Regions from separate parts of the Homo sapiens genome. Here regions 1 and 2 are each linked to region 3. Evidence: promoter capture Hi-C in 16 types of primary human blood cells and fetal thymus (Javierre and others, 2016). All regions are on one chromosome and are shown on one strand. The core of a region is centred on a gene start or on the middle of the fragment in contact, and the rest is flanking DNA. Distances in the headings are between cores, read along the strand shown. Region 1 overlaps LOC105377714 (a long non-coding RNA gene). Region 2 overlaps LOC105377714 (a long non-coding RNA gene). Region 3 holds the start of SLIT3-AS1 (SLIT3 antisense RNA 1).

Region 1 (3,566 bases), core at 318-2,817, 530 kb after region 3:
AATCAGTTGTGGGGATAGTAAAGCATATTAATTTCATTGTCCTAAAGCAATTTAACCATATTACATAGATATGACTAACATTAAACTTTTTCTCCCAGTTTCATTTTATAAGATAGCAAAATGACTAATCAACCAATTGTCTAACCCAAATGATAACAACAGCTGACTTGACATTTTTATTTAATTGATGGCAAATCTGCAATTCTTTTAGATAGTTATATTCTAGGTGCTGCAAGCTAAGATTTAGCCTTCTTAATTATTTTTTGCTTTTTTTTTTTATAACCTCACATTTGCCTCCTTCACACACCCTGCTTAGATGACTTTCAAATAAAGCTAAACTCCCCCATTGGATTGCTGTCTATGGGCTCTTGCCCATGTCTTTTCTGTCTGAAAATGAAGTCTCTCTTCTCGCTTACCTTCTGAAAATCTAATATTGACCTTTTTTGTAAGGTGAGGCATCCCCTAATCATACCTGGAATCCTGGCCACCACAATATCATTCACTTCAGAAAATAAATACAAACTAAATATGACTCCAGATTTAAATGCAGAAACTTGAATAAGCACCACAGATTGGAGTATTTGGCTTTATTTCTTGCTGTGAGTCAGAGCCAGGAGGTTCCCATTAAGGTGTATATGAATTATATTACTCCATGCTGAAGTTTGTCTATAACGTAATGTTGTAAGGCAGCCAAGTTCTTCCAGCAATCTCATGGACCAATATTCAAAACATATCAGTATCTCATTAGATCCTTCATTTTACAAAAAAAAAAAAAGCTTTGCATTCTACTTAGCAAGCTATAGTTACATAGATATTTTGTTTTAGGGAAAAGTAAAATCCGTTTTAAATAAGCTTATTACTTCCATTGTATTGGTACCTATCAGGTTGTCACATTCATCTGGAACGAGTTGCCATGAAAAGAGGAAATAAATGCATAGAATTATGGATGGAGTGTACTTTGATATAGTTCAAAGAAATAGGAGGGGCATTTTCAGGGAAAATTTGTTCTACATCCCCATTACTGTCCTAAACCAGCAAAAAATTCCTTAAGCTAAGTCACATGGCAGGACAAAAACTGTTCAAATAAGCTCAAACCATGAGGAAAAAGGGCAACAAGTATTTTCTCTTCAGCTTCAAACTTCTTTCTTTTCTTCTTGCTCCTCTCTTTTAAATGAATCCTTAAGAATTTTAGGCAAATATATATTTTAAAAAGTGCTGAATTCCAAAATATTTAATAATGGAAGAAAAGAGTTGACTGCTAATCCCCTCCCACATCTACTCCTTATTCTTCAAAAGCCACTTCAAATGAGAACTTGTGAAGACAGCCTCATCAGTAAGTCATCTCTCACCCTAGTGAGTCACCACCTTCAGAGGTGGATGACCTGGTAAGATGAAACATACTGAGATTCAAAAGCTCCCATGGACTGATGGTCCCAGCACTATAGCTGGAAGGTCCCTTTTCTTGCCTTTCTTATGCTGGTGTTCTATGCTAAAAAGAGAGTGATTATTTCATCAACTCCAGAAGCGAGACATGAAGAATTAGGGCTGATAGAACTTGGAACTAAGGAATATAATCACGTTTTCTAGGAAGAGGAAAGGAAATAAACACACTGAAAAAGAAACCCAGCACAAAACAAAAAATTAACACGAATGTATTAAACCTTTAAAGAGTGTATTATTGAGAGTCCTTGAAGAAGTAAACCTGTATTCTCCATGGCCATTGAGAAAAATAAAATAAAATGGCATTGACATATACCTGGAGAAGACAAGTTATATATTAAGCAACGGTTCATGATCAGGCAAGCATCTTCTTCCAAATAGGTCTTTAAAATTGAAATAATGATCATTTCTTGCTCTGAGCAAGCCAGTGAATGAAGTCTGTAGCAGAACCAGTGCATCATGTTTTCCTCCTCTTCCAACCTATTTCGTAAACTCTCACTACTAACTGGTGACAAATGGGTTGGTCCTTGTGTGTTTTGCTCCCATCAAATGTTGCCATGCATTTTCTGTTTGCACATGCCTTATGTCTTCTACTAGTTGGAGAGCTTTTGAAGGAAATAACTCTGGTCTTGCTCATCTTTGCAAGAGTATGCTATGGAAACATCGTTATTAAAGTTTCAGTTTATAAAGCAATATAAGGCAAAAGTCTTATCTGGCCAAATCATCCTTGGAAATTTCTTAGAAAGGGGCAATTTGACAACCATGGGTCATTAAGTCCAACATGGCCAGTTTTCTCTCAGTGCTGGAACAGGCCAGTGTATCATTAAATCCTTTATTTTTATGAAGCTTTACATTCTACTGGTTTTGGTTGACAACCAGTTGGCTGGTGAGTAGGCTTATATTGTTTGAAAATATAAATATAAACATGAGTGTTACGAGATGTCTCAACCATGAAAGGTACACAAAGTGTGATACTGGATAAGAAAAGAGAACATTGCTGTCTCTCATCTCATGCTTTTTTTTTTTTCTTTTTCTTTTGAGATGGAGTCTCACTCTGTTGCCCAGGCTGGATACAGTGCAGTGGCGCGATCTTGGCTCACTGCAACTTCCGCCTTCTGGGTTCCAGCAATTCTCCTGCCTGTCTCCCTAGTAGCTGGGACTACAGGTGCATGCCACCACACCTGGCTAATTTTTGTATTTTTAGTAGAGATAGGGTTTCACCATGTTGGCCAGGCTCGTCTCAAACTCCTGACCTCAACTGATCCACCTGCCTCAGCCTCCCAAAGTGCTGAGGTTACAGGCGTGTTCCTGGCCTCTCATCTCATTCTTACTGCAGTCAGGATCCCATCAGGAAAACAGAAACAGAAATCATGCCAAGTGTTTCAAACAGAGGTGATTTAATATAGGAGATCAGTTATACAGAGTCTGGAGGGCTGAAAGAGAAAAAGAAAAAAAAACAAACAAAAAATGGTGTTCAGGTACCTCTGGTATTTGTAGTATAGAAAGCAGCTAGGATTCTTAGGGCTGGAAGATTAAAAAAGAGTAAATAGTGTTACCAGGACACCATTTCTTGGGGGAAGGGTCTCCACAGAGCAGATTTTCCAACCACCAATGTGTCACTGCACAGCTGGCTCAGCAACCTCTGAGGAGATGTCACGTGATTGCTACTTGGACTCCAGTGGTGAGTGCTAAGAGGGAACGTGGCAGTTCCTACTGGTACCTCTGAAGGAGCCACTGTGGAACTAATGCTGGAAATGCTAAAATAAGCTGGAGTCCTACTTGAGTGCTACTGATGGAAGGACTTCGACCAGAACTGAAAACAGAAAGAGCATCCTTCTACCCTCCTATCACCCTCTGATTTCCTGCCAGTGCCTCCAGTCGGCAGAACCTAACCAGAAGCTAGATAGCAAAAAAGTCTGGGAAATGCAGTCTGCAGATTCCTGCCTCCAGTGTCACAGAGCAGAGTATAAAAGCCTGGGCTTAAGGCTGAGAGACAGACAGTAGGTACAATTACTCCGAGGCACAAATTCATTGAGTGAAATAACAGGCAGAATTTCCTACAATATTTATATTATTTTTCTTTCATTTTTTTGCCATAGTTGAATTCCAGTAAGTTAAATGTATGC
Region 2 (3,649 bases), core at 177-2,676, 550 kb after region 3:
TGTATATGTACATAAACACACACACATACATGCACATGGGCAAATATGAATTTGTGATTGAGGCATGTGCCAATTCTAATCGCTCCCACATTTTTTTACATAATTATATTGTAACTCTTTGGACTAAGGTGCACAAGTGCTTGTCTGACATACCAATGAAAATGAAGAGAGGTAATCTATCATCCCTCCCACCCTTAAAAGACAACGTAGTCACCTAAGTAGCCAAAGTTGTCACAGAGAATATCATGATCATCTTTTGTGCATTCCACAAACATTTATGGAACTTCTAGTCTGGGGCCTGACATCTTCACTCAGAATGCTACAGCAAGCAAGACAAAGTGGGTCCTGCTACCTCTCAAGTGCTAGAGGGGAGAGAGACAATGAGCAAAGAACAGAATCGATAAAACAATCACCAGATGATGGTAAAAGCCAAGAAGAAACTAAAATAGGTGATGTCATAGAGCGACTGTGGGACTGCATCAGATTGAGAGATCAGGGAATGTGCCAATGAAGGTAACTTATGAGCTGAGACCTGAATCACCAGTGTTTAGGATATAGCTCTATGGTCTAATTTTTCAGGTCATTTTATGATGTGGCTCCTTCATGCACATTTAAATGAAGTGATTAGAATACACACCTGGTGGATAGGGTTCTATATTATACCCTCAGCTACCTCCCACTTCCTTTTTAAGCTTCATTCTAAAATGACATTTTAAAAATGTAAGTGGCAAAGCTAGACCCATTAGCTATAAGTGATATAGAAATCCCAAAAAGATGTTCCAGCAGGGATTGAGCTGGCCTTTTAGACAAAAATAATGAGGTCATTGCTTTGTTGACTGCCATCGACTTGCATATCTCAGCCTCTATCAGTGACCAAAATCATCCAACAAAATGACTCCTTAAGTGCTTATGATGAAGAACAGCTACCAGAACACCCAGGCAAGCATTCTTACACTCATATCTTCTGTGAATCCATCAGCCAGCAGTTCCCATGCTCAGGGTAAGGAGCAGACATATTTCTTGTCAGTAAGTTTATCTATTGAGATGCTGTGGAATGTTCTTATCCATCATCTTGTACATCATATACCATAACTCTTATGGCTTATGACTTGTAGACAACACAAATAGCCACCTGAAGGTGTCCTCATGCAAAATTTTGCTGTTGAGAAAATAACCACTAGTCTTATAACCCTGTGGCAATCCTTTATTCTCCCTAAATACTAATTTTTGCATGTCAAAAAAAGTTAAACAGATGAACTCTAAATTTGAATTTTAGTCTTTTAGATTTCCTAAAAATGATTCAAACAATATTTCCTTGCAAGGGAAGATATAAAACATTTGCTTGAATTCAAGAAAGAGTAATATCTGAGCATTTTGAGCACTGTATCCATTGGGCATATGCATGGCTGCAACTAATGAGAAAGTAAACAGTGGCTTCAACAAATAAGGCTTTATTTTTCTCTCGTAACAAGCAGCCTGGAGGTAGACTTTAGCTGGCTTTTGCTCAGCAGCATCACAATGTTAGGGTCAGCATATCCCTTGCCTATTCCTTGCCTATCCCTTGATCTTTCCCTTATCTTGTCACCTCAAGTTCACAAACTGGCTGCCGCAACTGCAAAAATCATATCCTCATGACTGACTGAAGAGCTGGAAGATTAGTAGAGGCAGGAGGAGTGCCATCCAGGTTTATCTTTCTATATGGGGAAAAAAAAAAGTATTTTATAGAAGCTCCTGCAGCAGCCAACTCCTTTGGTTTCATGTGTCATATGACCAACTCTAGGTCCAAAGTGCCTATGACTTTGCTTCTCCAGCCTGAATTGTGGAAATCCCAGTCTTTTCTATGGTTTTTGGGTCAGCCAAGAAACCATGTCTACCACAATAATTTCTGTATTATATCTTCATATCCCTACACATCTCCTTCATTACACCTCCCAGGATAGTTATCTAGGTAGGGTTTGACTAAAATACGGACATAGAGCCAACATTAAACTATTGAGTAACTGAGATTTTTGAAGGCACTGGCTTATAGGAAATGTTAGCAGGAAAAACCAGTACCAACTGAGTCAAACAGGAAAGACTGCCTCAATGTTTGCCAAAATACATTAAGGCTAGCAGTTGGCTGATTTTCAAAAAATATATTTTCTAATTGTAAAAGAAATATAAGCTTATTTAACAAGAATTTTTGATTGTAGGGAATCATAAAAAGAAAGTGAAAGTCATCTAAAAGTAACTCCCTACATATTTGGTATATTCCCTTCAAAACATTTTTTGTAAGCGTTCTGCACATTTTCTTCCTTTCTCCACTCTGTTCTTTCCGTAACTATGCTAAGTTCTTCTGAAATCTGCTTTCATCTACCGAATATATCCTCGTTCCCTCTGCATATGGTTGCTGTGTTATATCCCATTATGAAGTATCATTGTTAAGAACACAGATCACCCCAGACCATCTGGGTGTCACCCCTAACGTGACCACTTATCAGCTGCATAACTTCTTTGTGGTTCAATTTTGTCATATTTAAGATGAGATAATAATACTATCTATGTACAGGATTGTTGTGCAAATTAAGCTAGTTAATCCTTGTAATGCACTTAGTAGAGTGACAGGCAAATAATAGAGCTCTATAAATGTCAGCCAGTTTTATTGTATGGAAATATGTCAACTAATTTTATTAATCTTGAATTGGTAGATATTCAAATTATCTTAAAATATTTGATTTGATAAATGGCCCATCCATTAATATCCTTGAAAATACATCTTGTCAAATAATGTCCTAAGGATACATTCCCTCAAATATAATTGTTGGGCCAAAGGATATCCACACTTTAAATTTTGACAATTAATTTCAAGCTGCTCTTTAGAAAGCTTGTTCAAAGCCATGTAGGAATTGCCTGTTTTTGGGTAAAGGAAGGTCTATTTTCCCATTCTAGACATTAATTTTTGCCAAACCAGCAGTGAGAATTCTCATTACTCTTTTAATTCACGTTTCTTTAATATGTAAAAAGGTTTAAAATTTTCTAAGTGTTTTTTAATCATTCATATATACATTGAGATGGAGTTTGGTTCTTGTGGCCCAGGCTGGAGTGCAACGGTGTGGTCTCGGCTCACTGCAACTTCCGCCTCCCGGATTCAAGTGATTCTCCTGCCTCAGCCTCCTGAGTAGCTGGGATTACAGGCATGCACCACCACGCCTGGCTAATTTTTTTGTATTTTTAGTAGAGACGGGGTTTCACCATGTTGGCCAGGCTGGTCTCGAACTCCTGACCTCAGGTGATCCACCCGCCTCAACTTCCCAAAGTGCTGGGATTACACACGTGAGCCACTGCACCCAGCCAATCATTCATATTTTTAATGAATCATTTGATTGTGTCCTTAGAGGCTTAATGGATTTTTTGTTGTAGGGGTCAGGTGACTTATATGCCCTTTAAATTAAAGAGTCCAACAGCAAAAGGGAGTCTGACAATATTCCAAACATTTCTTTTTGCATTCTCAATGACTGCTACCAAATTTTTCTCAGTTTGAAAGAAATAGCTGGTTAAGAGGAATTTTCAGCCTTTGTGAGATGTGCATCTGTTTAGAAAAGTCTATGAAAAGGGAATAGTAAAAAGATGTGGGGAAAAAAAACAGAAGAAAGCTATTTTAAATGAGAAT
Region 3 (3,850 bases), core at 1,311-3,810:
TGAGGTGGGCAGACTGCCTGAGCTCAGGAGTTCGAGACCAGCCTGGGCAACATGGCGAAACCCCGTCACTACCAAAATACAAAACAATTAGCCAGGCGTGGCGGCATATGCCTGCAGTCCCAGCTACTTGGGAGGCTGAGGCAGGAGAATTGCTTGAACCCAGGAGGCGGAGGCAGAGGGTGCAGTGAGCCGAGATCGCGCCACTGCACTCCAGCCTGGGCGACAGAGTGAGACTCTGTTTCCAAAAAAAAAAAAAAAAGCCTTTTATTTTTAGAGTGCTTTACAGTATGAAGCCCCTTCACATGGACTATGTCATCTGATTCTTCCCATAACCTACTGAGATGAGAAATGTGGGTCTAATTATTTCCAGAAAGAAGAGCAGGGCTCAGGGAAGCTAAGCCCACTGAAGACTCTAAGTCTATAAGGGCCGAAGCTATAACCAACACCTGCTTCAGCCTCCAGTCCAGCTCTGCTCCTGGACCCTGAATTGCTTCTGAGTCCCAGCCTGGCCCAGGCTCCAGCATCCCAGAAATGACATCACCGAGTTCTGTTCCAAAATGGCTCTTAGAAGCCTTTGTGAACCCTGGAGTTTTTGGCGTGTCCGACTCCACATTACCACTCTCCAGTGTGTAAAAAAGCCAGAACTATGAAAAGATTTAATTTGGAGAGGTGACCATAGTAAGTCTCCACTGCTTGTGGCTTCTAGGCAAAATTGTAATAGGTCTAGCTACTAAAGCTTTGGTTTATCATCTTCCAGGCCAGGTGACACCCATCTACAAATAGGAAGATGGCTTCATTCCTCCGCGGCTCAATGAGGACAGTGTGGATTTATGGAGGTGATTTATGGAGAAGAGAGCCGTGCAAAGAATGAGGCCAGACTATCAGAGGTCCCTTGTAGACCCCCGAGGAGGAAGGCTGAGGAATGCACTGCCCAGCACACTCAAGACAGTCATTTGCTGGGGGAGAGGAGGGGCCTGCTCTGTCAGAGCTCAGGGTTTTACACATCCTAAAATCTTTACTTATGGACATCAGGTCAAAGGGAAGGGAAAACACTCAACCACACTTGAAAAGTAACCCGATGTTATTGTCAGCAAATGTGCTGCAGCTGTTTTTGCTATTACAAAAGCTGGTACTTTTGTTGTTGTTAAGTATGAATCTTGTAGGAAATAAAGAGTATGATTCTGGGGAAGCCCCCTGTATAGCACTGCCCACTTTGATAAAAATATCATTTATTCATTCAACATAGGGGACTTCAAAAACAGAGTAATATTCTTTCTTGCTTTTTTTTTTTTTTGGTTTAACTAGGTGTTAGAAGGTAGGAACCACTTTTATTGTCATTTTTTATTCTTTATAACTTGATATGTTATAAACATTATTTATTATCTACTAAATAGCAAATACAAATGATAACTCTTCATTGTTGATGAAAGCCATTTTTCGGGGGTACAGGAAAGGGCATCTTATAGATTGGGAGATGAGGATTTTGATGATTGCCTAGAAGACTTTATTTTGTAATAATCCTGAAGCAAAATGGCATGAAGCTCTGCTGACCTGTGATAACTGTGTGTATTTCCTTCCAGTGTCTCACCAACTGGCAGCCATCCACTTCAGGTGTGCCCGTTGAAGGATGCCACCTCGAAGGAGATGGGACCAGCCTTGTGTTGGGGTGAGGATTCTGGCCACTTGATCTGGGCAGGAGTGCTCTGCTCAGAGTGCAGTGCTCAATCTTACAAGCCTGGCTCGCCTGAACTGTGAAAGGTCAGCAGGACTAAGCTGAGCGCCAGGATTCCAACTTCCCTTCTTCCGCCCCAGGTCTGGCAACTTGTAAATGTGGAGGCTCTGCTAAGCACTGGGATTTTATTAAGGGCCTCGTTAAAATTTACTAGAATCAAATAAAGAAAAGATCCAGCCTTGGAAATCATTCTCCACGCTGTCTCTCCTTCTGACCTCTTCTCAACCCCCATCCCCCACACCATTTATTCATCCGTGAAACCTTTAACAACTGAACTAATTCTGGAAAGTTGCCCATATCAGATATCTTCAGAAATCACTTTGGAAAATGCCTTTAGGAAGGTAGGACACCTCTTCCCATTTGTCTTATGATGGCAGGTCCAGAGCTTACATGAAGAGGCAGTGAGGCAAAGATGTAAAGAATATGGACTCTTCAGTCAGACCTGGGATGAACCCCGGCCATTACCTACTCACGGAGGAGCCTGGGCCACTTATCTAACCTCTCTGAGGCTCACTTTCTGCGTCTATCAAATGAGAATAGCGCTACTATCTGCTGTATGAAACACTGACCGAGTTAAGCAAAATAATGCAGGTTAGCTGCTTAATCCAGTGTCTAGCACATAGCAAGTGCCAAAAATGTGAGCGATTAAAAGGGGTCTTTTACTAGCACTGGCCACATCCCCATCTTATCGCTTTATCTTCCATTGAGCAGAGGTTCTGCCAGGTGCAGGGGACAAGGGAGAAGAAAAGACACGCACATTCTCCTGGGCTTCAAAGTTGTCCCATCCTTCTGTGATGTCATAATCTGAGCCATAGCCCACAAATGTGAACTCCAACAACCCCCAAACCCAGTCCTCACCTCCCACATGCTTTTCATCACCCGCTCTCACATCCCATCTGGGGCCTCTGCTTCCATCCTACCATTTCGCAAGCCTGGCCAACTCAAGCTCCGTGTGCTGCACCTAGAGCAGCCCATCTCTGTGTCAGGTAAGCACGTCAGGGCCCCCAGGATGGGAGACAGGAAAACCTCTTCTGGGGGAAGCCGAAATGGAGCAAAATGGGACAGCTCTTTGGTTTTGTAATTAAAACTGAAACCCGATCCTTCTGCTCTCAGAGACCTGACCACAGGTTTCGTTTTTCAAAGGGCTACCTGGATGCTTATTAAAGGCCAACTTGTGCCCAAGATTGGGTTACTCCACTTTCAGCAGCTGCTTGACCTCTGCCTCTTACGCCCGTTCTGAGATGAAGGCTCATGTGGAATTAAACCCGGGCTAAATAGGTGGCCCAGGGCAGCCGGGGCCCCATGCAGCTCCTCGAAAGACAAATGTATTTTGAGCAGGCCTGGCTCCTACTCCTTCAGGTCTCTGCTCAAATATTCATTCACCTGCCCTCCAAACCTACAGTTACTTACCTCTTCCTTCTTCCTCACATTGTCGTATTTTCTCATGCCACTTACTCTAAAGTGCCTGGTTTATAGATCTGCATACTTGCTCTGGCTTGCAGGCCTCTAGGCTGTTGGTTCCCTGAGAAGAGAGACTGCCTGTCTTGTTCATGCTATAGTTCCTGTGTGTGATAGTTATTGCACTGAGTGGATGAGGGAGAAGGATAAAAGTCATAAAATGCCTCGCAAAAACTTTGAGGTCTGCCTGCCTGGTATTACAGAGAAGCTTGCACAATACAGAATGTTTTGTGGGAAGGAAGGCAGGCAGGCAGGCAGGCAGGCAGGCAGGTTGGTTATGTTTTCACTCTTGATATCTCAAAGCTTTATGACACACTCATGGAGTGAACATAATCTTTGTGGCATGATACAAAGGGACTGAATCACTCAAGAAGATAATTTTATCTGGTAGTATCACCTGCCTTTATACATTATACATGTATTCTTATTCTCTCTCTCCAGCTATATATATCCAGAAAATTTTCTGAACCAAAATTGGCCAGGTCCTGAATACCTAAGTCCATGGAGTGGAAAGTCAGTACAAATTTGATGAGAGCCAGGAAACCTGAAGTACTGGTGGGGGAGAGGATGGTGAGGTGGAGAAGAGAAAGAATAGCCACAGCCAGGGCTTTTCTTTGGCTGAAGCCTAGGATAGACTTAGACAGGTCAAGACCAACGTCA

What was found. Contacts are between HindIII fragments. The CHiCAGO score rates a contact against its expected background, and 5 or more counts as called.
Region 1: a fragment that was not itself captured here is called in contact with the fragment with the promoter of SLIT3-AS1 in region 3 in 4 of 17 cell types (M2 macrophages, M0 macrophages, M1 macrophages and 1 more); the score reaches 8.6 in M2 macrophages.
Region 2: a fragment that was not itself captured here is called in contact with the fragment with the promoter of SLIT3-AS1 in region 3 in 5 of 17 cell types (M2 macrophages, M0 macrophages, endothelial precursors and 2 more); the score reaches 10.4 in M2 macrophages.

The regions. Positions count from the first base shown.
Region 1 is chr5:169,544,591-169,548,156 of GRCh38, forward strand. The region is part of intron 2 of LOC105377714 (a long non-coding RNA gene); the gene reads right to left. All of the region lies in intron 3 of LOC105377715 (a long non-coding RNA gene), which reads left to right. Among named protein-coding and RNA genes, the nearest start is that of SPDL1, 37 kb to the right of the region's middle. The HindIII fragment of the contact is 1,434 bases long and covers 851-2,284 here.
Region 2 is chr5:169,562,599-169,566,247 of GRCh38, forward strand. All of the region lies in intron 2 of LOC105377714 (a long non-coding RNA gene), which reads right to left. Among named protein-coding and RNA genes, the nearest start is that of SPDL1, 19 kb to the right of the region's middle. The HindIII fragment of the contact is 1,472 bases long and covers 691-2,162 here.
Region 3 is chr5:169,010,667-169,014,516 of GRCh38, forward strand. It overlaps SLIT3-AS1 (SLIT3 antisense RNA 1), which reads left to right and starts at 2,561. Exons shown (of 5, transcript NR_109897.1): 1 at 2,561-2,718. The region is part of intron 4 of SLIT3 (slit guidance ligand 3); the gene reads right to left. The HindIII fragment of the contact is 2,662 bases long and covers 735-3,396 here.